Regions from separate parts of the Homo sapiens genome. Here region 1 is linked to region 2. The links are contacts of gene promoters, found by promoter capture Hi-C in blood cells and fetal thymus (Javierre and others, 2016). All regions are on one chromosome and are shown on one strand. The core of a region is centred on a gene start or on the middle of the fragment in contact, and the rest is flanking DNA. Distances in the headings are between cores, read along the strand shown.

Region 1 (6,522 bases), core at 1-2,500, 150 kb before region 2:
AAACAAATAAACAAAGAAAATACCTTATCATGATTTTGGACCCCGATCTCTTTTTTCCTCTTGTTCTTTGAGGCTGTGGGTATCTTGGGAGGCTCCTCCTCTTCTTCCACATCAGGCAGGGCCACTTCTTCAAAGCCATCAAACTGAGAAGGAGTTGGTGCTGCTGAGCACAGACACCAGGCCAATATCCCTCCCACGTGTGGCCTTCCCCCTTCATAAGGCTACAGCAGCCTTAGGTCCTATACCTCATACTCCTTTTCCTCAGTCCAATTGATCTCTTCAAAGTCACCCATCCGGCTAGCTGCTGGGCGCAAGTGGTCAAAGAAGATAGAAAACTCATCCTGCAGGTGGTCGTGGCCCTTGAGGAGCTGCCACATCTGTGTCTTGAGCTGAGGAGAGTCACAGAGGGAAAGAGGAAGTCTCCAGAGCCTCTCTAGGCTGCCCTTCCCAATCAATCCCACATACTTCCATGTTCTGCTTTCCCAGTCAACTGGGAAACACACAGAGACTCTGCCTGGTAACAAAGAATACTAAAACTTTCTCTTCCTCCTTAGCTGCCTATAGGGGAAGGGTACTAATACTGGATTTGATTCCTAATGATTCCACTCTCCACTCCACCCTACTGATCTCCAGCTAGGGCACTATTCCAAGCAGAGCAAGGAGGTAAGGCCCCTCCCAGGTCCCAGAACCTCCTTCGCTGAACATCCCTTCCAGCACATCCATGGCATTCCTGAGCCTGTGAAGATCAGACAGGCTCCGGTTTCAGGTAGCAATCCCTCCCTATCCCAGTGCTTTATGCTTTGGGTGAGCCTGAAAAGTCCTTGCCTTTTTCATCTCCTCCAGGAAGCCCATGAGCCTCCAGAGGCAAAAAGGTATGGAGTAGGTTGGGGAAAGAGACAAGGGAAAGGCCTAAGGCCCGGAAGACAACAGGAAGAAAGCAGGACAGGAAAGAATACCTCGGTGATCTCCTGGGGAAGGCAGTCTGCACAGCCTTGGAGGACCTTGATAATCTTCTGGTGGTGTGAGGGGTTCTCTGCAAAGCAAATCTCCAGCTGCCGAAGGAACTTGCGGCTCTTCTCAAAAGCCTGCTGCTCCTCAAACTACCAGAGTGGAAAGTGGGCAAAAGAGGAGTCATGATACAGCTAGAGCAGGACTTGAGGGTTCTAAGGATAAGAACTAGTGGACTAGGACACAAGAGATGACAGAACCCTGGTTTAAAATTCTAGTTTACAACTATTGAGATCTAATTTAAAACCCTAACCTCCATCCACCTTGGGCCACTGGTGGGTAGCCACCCAAAGCAATTAAGATGTGAGCAACAGCTTCAAGAGATGTATATATTTCAAGTTGTTTGCTGTTTTAAGGATTGTGAAATCAGCCACCAAAATTCATATGATACTTTAGAGTTTATATTACAAAGAACTTTCAGGCTGCACAAGGTGGCTCATAGCTGTAATCCCATGTTGGGAGGCCAAGGCAGGAGGATCGCTTAAGGCCAGGAGTTCAAGAACAGCAACATACTGAGACTATGTCTCTACAAAAAAATTTAAAAATTAGGCAGGGGCCGTGGTGTACACCTGTAGCTTGAGCTACTTGGGAGGCTGAGGCAGGAGGATCCCAGGGGCCTGTGTTGTCCAGGCTCATCTCAAACTCCTGTCTACAGGCCAGCTGTGGTGGCTGATGCCTGTAATCCCAGCACTTCGGGAAGCCGAGGTAGGCAAATCACCTGAGGTCAAGAGTTCGAGACCAGCCTGACCAACATGGTGAAACCCCATCTCTACTAAAAATACATAAATTAGATAGGTGCGGTCATGCATGCCTGTAATCCCTGCTACCCGGAAGGCTGAGGCAGGAGAATCACTTGAACCTGGGAGGCAGAGGTTGCAGTAAGCAGAGATCACACCACTGCACTCCAGCCTGGGTGACAGAGTCAGACTTTGCCTCAAAAAACAACAACAATAAAACAACAACAACAAAACTCCTGGCTACAAGGGATCCTCCCACCTTAGCCTCCCAAAGTGCTGGGATTACAGATGCCAGCCACTGTGTCTGGCCATTGTCTCTCTCTTTTTTGTTTTTGAGACAAGGTCTTGCTCTTGTCACCCAAACTGGAGTGTAGTGGAGCAATCATGGCTGAGTGAAGCCTCAACCTCTCAGGCTCAAGTGGTCCTCCCACCTCAGCCACCCAAATAGCTGGGACCAAAGGTGTGCACCACCACACCCAGTTAGTTAATTTTTTTATTTTATGTAAAGATGGGGTCTTGCTATGTTGTCCAGGCTGGCCTCCCAAAGTGCTGGGATAACAGGTGTGAGCCACCATACCTGGCTGACATTATCTCTTTAAAAAAATTTTTTGGCCAAGTGTGGTGGCTCACACCTGTAATCCCAGCAATTTGGGAGGTCGAGGTGGGCAGATCACCTGAGGTCTGGAGTTCGAGACCAGCCTGACCAACATGGAGAAACCCCGTCTTTACTAAAAATACAAAATTAGCCAGGCGTGGTGGTGGCGCATGCCTGTAATCCCGGCTACTCGGGAGGCTGAGGCAGGAAAATCGCTTGAACCCAGGAGGCGGAGGTTGCAGTGAGCCGAGATCACGCCACTGCACTCCAGCCTGGGCAACAAGAGTGAAACTCCATCTCAAAAAAAAAAAAATTTTTTTTTTTGTTCACGTATACACTGATTGGAACCTCATAATACCAGAAGAGAAAATGGGCATCACACATTATATGCAGAACTACCCCACTGTCATTTAACCCCAATAAAACTCTTAGAATAATCCCGTTCCTCCCTTTGTTCCTATTTTTATGACGATAAGTCCAGGACTACTGGGATATCCCTCATGTTTAGCCTCCTATTCTGCAACATTTCACGTTACCATACCACAGTGGCCTTCCCAGACCGCTGTGTATAAAACCACCCCTCTAGTTTCCTTTCCTGCTTTATTTTTCTGTAAAACATGATCACTATAAAACATTGTATACTATATATTTTGCTGTTTATATTTATTTTTATAATTTATATTTTATATATTATATATATATATATATGATATATATATATATATGTTTTCTGGAGTATCATCTGAATTTCCTCATGATAACGTAAGCTCCACGAGGGCAGGAATTTTAGTCTTTTGTAATTACTATATTCCTAGCAATTGAGGTCAGGAATTGCTAGGAATTCCTGACAGTTAGGAGGCACCTAACAAATATTTGTTAAATGAATGTCTGGCTTGATACCAGTGAGAAGCAGAGAGCATATGACTCACCTAAGGTGTCCTTTGGCAACTATAGGTAAAACCCTCTCATTTATCATGTAAAGAAAATGGGAGAATGGGATTGGAAAGATAATACCCTGAAAAGACAGAGGCTTTTATCACTCTGGGCTAGGGGATGGCTGTGTGTCTGGAAGGAGCTGGGAGACTGAAAGAGTCTTATTCAACCCCATTCAATCCCAGTCTCACTCTGACCCAGGAGTCCCAGTGTACTTTTTTTCCCCATTCACTTACTAATCCACAGGCCAGAGCTTGCTCAGGTAACAGGAAAGCAGCAAAGTCTTTCAACAGCTGAGGCCAGTCTTGGAGCAGAATTTGCAGGCTTTTGTAGAGATCTACAGCCGTCCGTCTCTGGGTACTTGACTCAAATTCATAGATGACTTGAAGGAAGTCTTCATACTTGCCAGGGATATGTTGTAGGGCTTCTCGCACCTACACGGGAAGACTTTCAATCATCAACACCCTTTATTTGGGCCACAACAAGCAATAAGGGTACAAGGGAGAAGGCAGGGTTATGGTTAGAGAGCTCCAAGAATTATCCATCAGAGGCTGTGCCTCCAACAGATCTTAACATCTGACTGTTAATGGAAGACACAGAGCAATAGGCAAGGTAAAGATCTTTTTCTGGGAGTGAGCAAGTGAAAAATCATCTTCCACGTTCCACAGTTCTACCCACAAAACCAAGCAATGCTTTTCTCTAGGTCACAGCCCTAACCTTTCCTTACTGATTACAGCCCCATAATGAAATAGGTAACATGTGTTTGTACATGTATTTCAGCATGGGCGTAATTTGAGAGTAAATAATACATAAGTTAGGAATGTCAGTAAAACATTAGGAGATAAGAAAAAGCTATGACTATCATTGCCAGTATTCTGCTTTCCAGGGGGATAAAGGAATCAGGTGGTTACCAAGAGAAGGACACAGTTCTCCAGGACACTACCAAGAAGTGGTTAGCTTATGTGTGGTTTTTTTTTTTTTTTTTTTTTTTGAGACAGGGTCTCATTCTGTTGCCCAGGATGGAGTGCACTGATGCAATCATGGCTCACTGCAGTCTCAACCACCTGGGCCCAAGTGATCCTCCCACCTCAGACTCCCAAAGTACCTAGGACCACAGGCATGCACCACCATGCTTAGCTCACTATTTTTTTTTTATTTTTGTAGAGATGGAGGTCTCCTGTGTTGCCCAGGCTTGTCTTGTCTTGAACTCCTGGACTCAAGGATCCTCCTACCCCAGCCTCCCAAAGTGCTGGCATTATATGCAAGGGCCACAGCGCCCAGCCTGGTTCATTTTTTTTTTTTTTTTGAGACAGAGTGTCGCCCTGTCACCAAGGCTGGAGTGCAGTGGTGCGATCTCGGCTCACTGCAAACTCCGTCTCCCAGGTTCAAGTGATTCTTGTGCCTCAGCCTCCCCCGTAGCTAGGATTACAGGCGCCCACCACCACACCCGGCTAATTTTTGTATTTTAGTAGAGACAGGGTTTCACCATGTTGGTCAGGCTGGTCTCTAACTCCTGACCTCAGGTGATCCACCCACCTCGGCCTCCCAAAGTGCTGGGATTATAGGTGTCAGCCACCACGCCCAGCTGGTTCATGTCTTAAGAGCAATGTATTTTCCTGAAATCCACTTGCTGGCCAGTGTACCCACTATCTTTCTTCTCAAGCCAAAGGTTCTATAAAGGTCCTTATCAGCGCACCCAGTAAAGTCACAACCTCCCACTGATGATGGTGGTATCATCTTTCTGCCAATCTCTGGTCAACAGAAGGATGATGGCAGGGTACTAACAATAAACATACTTATGATTGAATTCTATGTCTCCTTGTGGTTCTGTCACAGAGATCTTTTGCCAGAAAAGCCAAGATAGAGGAATATGAAGCCTGTTGCATAGCCTGAAAAACAGACTTTATGTTGAAAAACATCTCCCTTGAAGAAGCAGCCACATTCATAGAGACTGGCAATAACAGGAAGCAGCATTTGCCTACCCTGGTCAGATAAGCTTGGGCAAAGGCCAAGTCCTTCTGCTCCCTGAGTGGATCTCGCTCGAGAATGTCCTCATCATACAGCAACAGCAGCTTGGAGGTGTCCTTGCTGGCCCGAGCCCGACTTCCCCGCTTGTTGCGAGCTCGATGATTGTTCCGGCCTTTTCCAGCAGCTTTGATGCTCTCTCCTTGTAGCACACATGAAAAGGATTGTTTCCCTGTCCCTGCAACCTGTGTTCTTCCCATTCCACCACATGCACCACCCCAGCCAAATCCTATTCAATATTATGGAGCAATTCAAGGAAAAGGTTTTTGGGAAAATGGTATGAGAACTAAGTCCGTCAAGTCAGTTCTACGCAGAGTCTGCAGTGTAACTGCCTTAATTGGGATGACAACAAGATAATCAGCTACTTCATATTGAGAAAGGAAGTCTAAAGAGCAAGTGTGGCTTCTGTAGTGCTTTTGAGAGACTATGTCTTGATGAGGAACAAGCAGTGTTTTCTGAAATAAACATGGGTCTTAGCCCCACACATGACAGATAAGGTAACAATCAGTTTAACAAAGTGAACTGCCAGGCACAGTGGCTCACGCCTGTAATCCCAGCACTCTGGGAGGCCGAGGCGGGTGGATCATAAGGTTAGGAGTTCGATACCAGCCTGACCAACATGGTAAAACCCCATCTCTACTAAAAATACAAAAATTAGCTGGGTGTGGGGGCAGATGCCTGTAATCCCAGCTACTCAGGAGGGTGAGGCAGGAGAATCGCTTGAACCTGGGAGGCAGAGGTTGCAGTGAGCCAAGATCGCACCACTGCACTCCAGCCTGGGCGACAGAGCAAGACTCCGTCTCAAAAAAAAAATAAAAAAATAAAAAAAAGAAAGAAAGTGAACGAAGCTAATATAAATCTAGCAACGGATGAGAATTGAATTAAAAATTTCTGAGTATCTGTTCTCCACAAAGATACCACATTAAACATGTTTTGGGGGAGGGGTGTTGCAGAAGAGATCCAGAGGGTTTCCTCTGGAAATCCTCCACCTGGTTTATAAGCTACCCACCCTGCACACTGTCCTCTAGACAATGAGGTTAAGTGAGAATGGTCCTTCAGTATAGGTTTGCCTAGCTCACCTGGTGGAGTTCTGCTGGTCTCCACTTCTGGAGCAGTCTCAGGTGAAGCAAAAGTAGGAGGCTTCTCAGCAGAGTCTCCAACTGCTTCATCCGTCATTTCATCCTCTTTCTGCAGGCTTTCCATTCCTTCTGCTTCTTCTTCCTC
Region 2 (6,219 bases), core at 2,893-5,392:
TAATTTATATATACATATGCACACATTCATATGCTTTTTTTTTTTTTTTTTGAGGCAAAGTCTCACTCTGTCGCTCAGGGCGGAGTGCAGTGGTGCAATCTCGGCTCACTGCAACCTCTGCCTTCTGGGTTCAAGGAATTCTCCCACCTCAGCTTCCTGAGTAGCTGGGATTACAGGCATGCAGCAGTAACACGCCCAGCTAATTTTTGTATTTTCAGTAGAGATGGGGTTTTACCATGTTGGCCAGGCTGGTCTTGAACTCCTGACCTCAGGTGCCTTGGCCTCCTAAAGTGCTTCGATTACAGGATTGCAGGCTCAGGATTACAGGCGTAAGCCTCCGCACCCGGCCTTGTATGCTTTTATATCTCTACCAGTTACAATGTAAAGTTTTTCTGAGTTTACAGCCAGAGCTTGAAATCAAATGCACTAAATTAGAAACTCAAGAACAGAAACCTCATCTTTTTGATCACCACTGTACCCTGAGGGTAAGCAGTGCTTGGCACATAATAGAAACTCAGAAGACATAAGTATTTGCTGTTGAATCAGATAATATTGCCAGGAGAGTAGTTAACTGGAGGAAAATTGATTAAAACAGATAACTTGGCCGGATGCGGTGGCTCACGCCTGTAATCCCAGCACTTTGGGAGGCCGAGGCGGACGGATCACAAGGTCAGGAGATCGAGACCATCCTGGCTAACACGGTGAAACCCCGTCTCTACTAAAAATACAAAAAATTAGCCAGGCGAGGTGGCGGGTGCCTGTAGTCCCAGCTACGCTGGAGCCTGAGGCAGGAGAATGGCATGAACCCCGGGGGGGCGGAGCCTGCAGTGAGCCGAGATCATGCCACTGCACTCTAGCCTGGGCGACAGTGAGACTCCATCTAAAAAAAAAAAACAAAAAAAAAAATACAGATAACTCTTACAGGAGACGAGTATTTGAGTTTTACTTTAAAGAAAGGGAAAGACGCGGCCGGGCACGGTGGCTCACGCCTGTAATCCCAGCACTTTGGGAGGCCAAGGCAGACAGATCACGAGGTCAGGAGATCGAGACCATCCTGGCTAACACAGTGAAACCCTGTCTCTACTAAAGGTACAAAAAATTAGCCGGGCGTGGTGATGGGCCCCTGTAGTCCCAGCTACTCAGGAGGCTGAGGCAGGAGAATGGCGTGAACCCGGGAGGCGGAGCTTGCAGTGAGCCAAGACGGCGCCACTGCACTCCAGCCTGGATGACAGAGTCAGACTCTGTCTCAAAAAAAAAGAAAGGAAAAGATGCTTTTGGAGTTCTCAAGTACATATGCGTAAGCCCTAAATTCATTTTATTCCTAGAACTCCCGCCATAATTTGAATCTCTGAACAATTTTTTTTTTTTTTTTTGAGACAAAAGCTTGCTCTTATCCCCCAGGCTGGAGTGTGATGGCACTATCTCGGCTCACTGCAACCTCCGCCTCCCAGGTTCAAGCAATTCTCCTGCCTCAGCCCCCGCAGTAGCTGGGATTACAGGCACCCAGCACCACGCCCGGCTAGTTTTGGTATTTTTAGTAGAGATGGGGTTTCACCATGTTGGCCAGGCTGGTCTCGAACTCCTGACCTCAGGTGCTCCACCCGCCTCGACCTCTCAAAGTGCTGGGATTACAGGCATGAGCCACCGCGCCTGGCCTGAATCTCTGAACAGTGTTCTAAATTTGATATAGTACATGAAAAAGTCAAGACTTTTTCTATTTTTCCCATCCCTGGAATCATGTGCTCTATGAAATGACCATATCAAAGCTGGGCCACCACAAAACATTATTGGCTTTGCGGGAAACAGAGCAGCAGAGGCCTGACCCAATGGAAATCCTTCCTAGAGAACTAGGATCATGGCAAAGAGTGTCACATACTGAAAATAATAAGGCCCGGCGCAGTGGTCACGCCTGTAATCCCAGCACTTTGGGAGTCCGAGGTGGGCAGATCACGAGGTCAGGAGATTGAGACCATCCTGGCTAACACGGTGAAATCCCATCTCTACTAAAAATACAAAAAAAAATTAGCCGGGCTTGGTGGCGGGCGCCTGTAGTCCCAGATACTCGGGAGGCTGAGGCAGGAGAATGGCATGAACCTGGGAGGTGGAGCTTGTAGTGAGCCGAGATTGTGCCACCGCACTCCAGCCCGGGCAACAGGGTGAGACACCGTCTCCAAAAAAAAAAACAAAAAAAGAAAATAACAGTACAGCTGACTTTCTGTGCCCTCTCCCATTCCCACATCCATTTTTCTTTCATATTAGGATATAAACCCTTAGAATCAAACCTGCTTCCTTATGGTTTAGGAATGACAGTAATGTTCTTAGTCTTTGTAGAGATTAGCAATTAAAAAATAAAAAAGTCAAAGCAAACAAAATGACTTTTTTACTCTATTAGCGTTCTGCAACAAGAGTTAAGGACCATAAAAGACATCGGAGGGCTAGGCACAGTGGCTCACGCCTGTAATCCCAGTACTTTTCGAGGCTGAGGTGGATGGATTACTTGAGGTCAGGAGTTTGAGACCAGCCTGGCCAACATAGTGAAATCCCATCTCTACTAAAAATACAAAAATTAGCCGGGTGTGGTGGCAGATGCCTGTAATCCCAGCTACTCAGGAGGCTGAGGCAGGAGAATTGCTTGAACCCGGGAGGCGGAGGTTACAGTGACCGGAGATCGCACCATTGCCCTCCAGCCTGGGAGACAGTGCGAGACTCCATCTCAAAAAAAAAAAAAAAACAACAGACAGACATGGGAGAAGACATTACTACGTAATGAACTTAAGGTATAAGGAAGTAAACCAAGAGCTCCAAGTGCAAGATGTCCAGGCTTGGCATGTCTGGGTTGTAAGAGTTCAGCAGCCTGGCTCTACTTGTTTCTCTGCTTCCTTTTGTGGAAGTTCAAACCAGCTGACTCACAGTTACAGAGCGAGTCTCAAGTCATACCCTTAGAGAAGTGACAGCAAGAAAAGGCTTCGTTAAGTGGCCTGTATACAACCATAAAAAAATACAACAAAGAGAGTTGTCCCATTAATGTTCAGTAAGAGACAAAGACTAAAGATGGCTTATGACATAAAGTCTGAAAAAAAAAGAAATATTCAGTTGCTTACCAACTGCTGATACCCTTGTTTCTAAATAAATCTGAATTAGACTCCAAAAAAGCCTCAAAATATAAATAGTTAGAAACTACTGATATTCATTAAGATATTTTTATGGGGTATATTTGGAAACATAAGTGATGATCTGGCTTACCAATGGTGGGATCATGATCTTCTGGGAATCGGTGGCTGATGAACTGCATGGTCATGGCTTCAAAAGAAGAAATAAAAGTCAAATCCTCACAAAGGTGACCCACAGAGAGAATTTTAAGTATTAACATTGCAAGATAGCAAGTATCCCATCTGGTCATTTAAGTACTTTTCATCCATGCTTCCTGTCAAATGGAAAATGTTACCTACCACTCTTCCCTACACCACCAGCACCCAGCATCACTAGTTTGTACTCCCGTGAGAGCCCAGCGGGGCTGCTACAGCAGCTACCAACTGGGCGAGTTCCAGAATCCATTGTCCTCTTGGGGCCTTCCTCGGTTGCCCCGAGGAAAAGCCACCTAGAAAAGGAGGAGGAAATGCTTAATCCAGGATGGAGACACCACGGCGACAGCCCTCAAGCCAGTGCCTTACCTTTCCATACATATTCTGGCCTGTCCCTCTTACTCTGGCCTGTCCCTCTTGCTCACCACTGCACCCTTTCGGGTGGCCCTAAGAAACCCCCCCATCTTCACCCTCCCTCCTAGACAGTTCAGTCACATGACACATCACAGGTTTTACTTTTTCCAAAGAGAAAAATAAAAAGATACAAATAAATTTACGTCTCGGCACAGTAGGGACAAGGAGAAAGTTTTGGGAAGAAAGGGATGCGGCCCCTTAGGCCGCAGGGGTTCTCTCACGTCTGCGGTACCCAGAGGTTCCGCCCCCTCCCCATTCTCCTCCGAACCCCCTCCCCACCCCCAGCTGCTGCTCCGCCGCCAGACTCCCCACCCCTCTACCTCACAAGCCGACGCCCTGCTGCTCCTACTGGTCAGTGGGGACTGGAACACCACAGCCGGTCGGGTCACGCACTTCGTCTTCCTTCACTCGCGGAGGCTCCGGCACTGACCTGTGACCCCTCCCGCAACCGAGTAAGATGGCGCCACCGGCGCCCGAGTCGCGGAAGGAGGGGCGGGGCCACTCAGTGACGCCCACAGCCTGCCCCGCCCTCTTCCCGCCCCTCCCAGGTCCCTAAAACCCAGTTCCGGGACCCACCGCTGAAGGTCCTCTGGTCACCTACCCAACCTAGGGTGTATGCACTCACAGACAAGGGTATTTAATCACGAGTAGAAAGTAAATTATTTACACAAAAGGGAAGGGAGTACGTGATAAGAGACATGCAGGGACACTTAAATTAACAACTTACCGAGGGTTGTTTGCTGCTTGTGGGAAAAAAAAAAACCCAAAACTAATTTGACCCAATGTAATGAGAGGAAGGGAGGACAGGGGCACCCCCCAAATCCTCCTAAAACACAGGATTTCAGTCAAGTCTACCGGGGATGACTACTCATAGGAGAAAAATGACTTTCCTAAAGGAGCGGCCACAATGACTTTTGCTATTGAAACCTAAATTCATTCTCAGAAACCAGATGTTCACAACACTCCCTAATCAGAGTTCTGTATGTATTTTAAACACGTATAAGACACACAAAAACTTGTTTTAAATAAATGTACCACACTCTGGCAGGAAAGAGAGCTCTGAGTTAACAGAGGCCTTGAGTTAAATACAGAACTGAAGCGCAGCCACTATAACCATATTCCCCTCTATTTACGTAGCACAGGTGCTAGAAGAAACTGACACGAAAATTGTTCTCATGCAGCTCTGCCTACCACTGTTCTTTTTAAATGTCTTTCTGGGCCGGGCGGGCGCGGTGGCTCACACCTGTAATCCCAGCACTCTGGGAGGCCGAGGCAGGTGAGTCATGAGGTCAAGAAATAAGAGACCATCCTGGCCAACATGTAAAACCGTCTCTACTAAAAATACAAAAGAATTAGCTGGGTGTGGTGGCATGCGCCTATAAGTCCCAGCTACTCGGGAGGCTGAGGCAGGAGAATCACTTGAACCTGGGAGGTGGAGGTTGCAGTTAGCTGGCTGAGAGGGTGCCACTGCACTCCAGCCTGGCAACAGAGCAAAACTCCGTCTCAAAATTTAAGTCTTTCTGGCCAGGAGTGCTGGCTCACGCCTGTAATCCCAGGACTTTGGGAGGCTGAAGTGGGCTGATCACTTGAGGATCAGGAGTTCAAGACCAGCCTGGCCAAAATGGTGACTCCCTGTCTCTACTAAAAATATAAAAATTAGTTGGGCATGGTGGTAGGTGCCTATAATCCCAGCTACTCAGGAGGCTGAGGCTGGAGAACCACTTGAACCCAGGAGGTTGCGGTGAGCCAGGATTGCACCATTCCACTCCAGCCTGGGTGACAGAGCGAGACTCCATCTCAAAAAAAAATAAAATGTCTTTCCAAGAATAACATATTTCCTTTAAAACCCGCTTCATTCATGAAGTCCTTTTAATACGCTGTTAAATAAAGGAGGGCTAAAATATGAAAATGGAAAATATCCAGCATAATAATCCTTAACCTTTTCATTTGAACTTTAAGGGTACATTTTGCAGTTACATAACTCTGGGAACTATATGCAAACCTTGGGGTCTGTATATGTATTTTTCTGGTAATGTTATAGTTGCATTGTGCTATGAGTAAAAAAGTTTATGAATTTCAGTGTATGGATGGGTTGTGGAAGAAAACAGAGAAACCACAAGCAGAATATTTATAGATTTATTTATAATGAAATTATGGTCTAAATATTTACAACATATAGGAAACCAGAGGATAAGTTTATACAAAGCCAGCCTGCAAAGTATTCAAATGTGCAAAAATGACAGTTCAATATCTCAAACTATTCCTGGTTCAGCAGACTAGCTCCTTCACTTTCACACATCAATATTTGATACAAAAAGTTATTTTGGCAAAATCTGTAATGCCAAGAAAAAGGACAATTTGCAATTTCAGTCATTAAGTCCAAAATCCTATAGCCAGCAGTCAGATCTCTCTGTTTTAGCTGCAACCAGTTCTGGGAGAGAGAGACCACTGTATTTCATTTCTGTGATGAGTTCTGACCAGTTTTAGTCAAGAAGTTTTCTCT

What was found. The method cuts DNA at HindIII sites, captures the fragments that hold promoters and counts their contacts. A CHiCAGO score of 5 or more calls a contact.
Region 1: a fragment that was not itself captured here is called in contact with the fragment with the promoter of RIT1 in region 2 in 3 of 17 cell types (megakaryocytes, endothelial precursors and M2 macrophages); the score reaches 9.7 in megakaryocytes.

What each region holds. Positions count from the first base shown.
Region 1 is chr1:155,756,935-155,763,456 of GRCh38, forward strand. It overlaps GON4L (gon-4 like), which reads right to left. Exons shown (of 32, transcript NM_001282860.2): 22 at 6,378-6,522; 23 at 5,256-5,440; 24 at 3,510-3,707; 25 at 957-1,100; 26 at 246-389; 27 at 24-143. Among named protein-coding and RNA genes, the nearest start is that of DAP3, 71 kb to the left of the region's middle. The HindIII fragment of the contact is 8,033 bases long and covers 1-5,267 here.
Region 2 is chr1:155,907,207-155,913,425 of GRCh38, forward strand. It overlaps RIT1 (Ras like without CAAX 1), which reads right to left and starts at 4,143. Exons shown (of 6, transcript NM_006912.6): 1 at 4,037-4,143; 2 at 3,450-3,598; 3 at 3,244-3,300. The coding sequence starts at 3,555. It overlaps KHDC4 (KH domain containing 4, pre-mRNA splicing factor), which reads right to left. Exons shown (of 14, transcript NM_014949.4): 14 at 5,839-6,219. The HindIII fragment of the contact is 5,298 bases long and covers 1,382-6,219 here.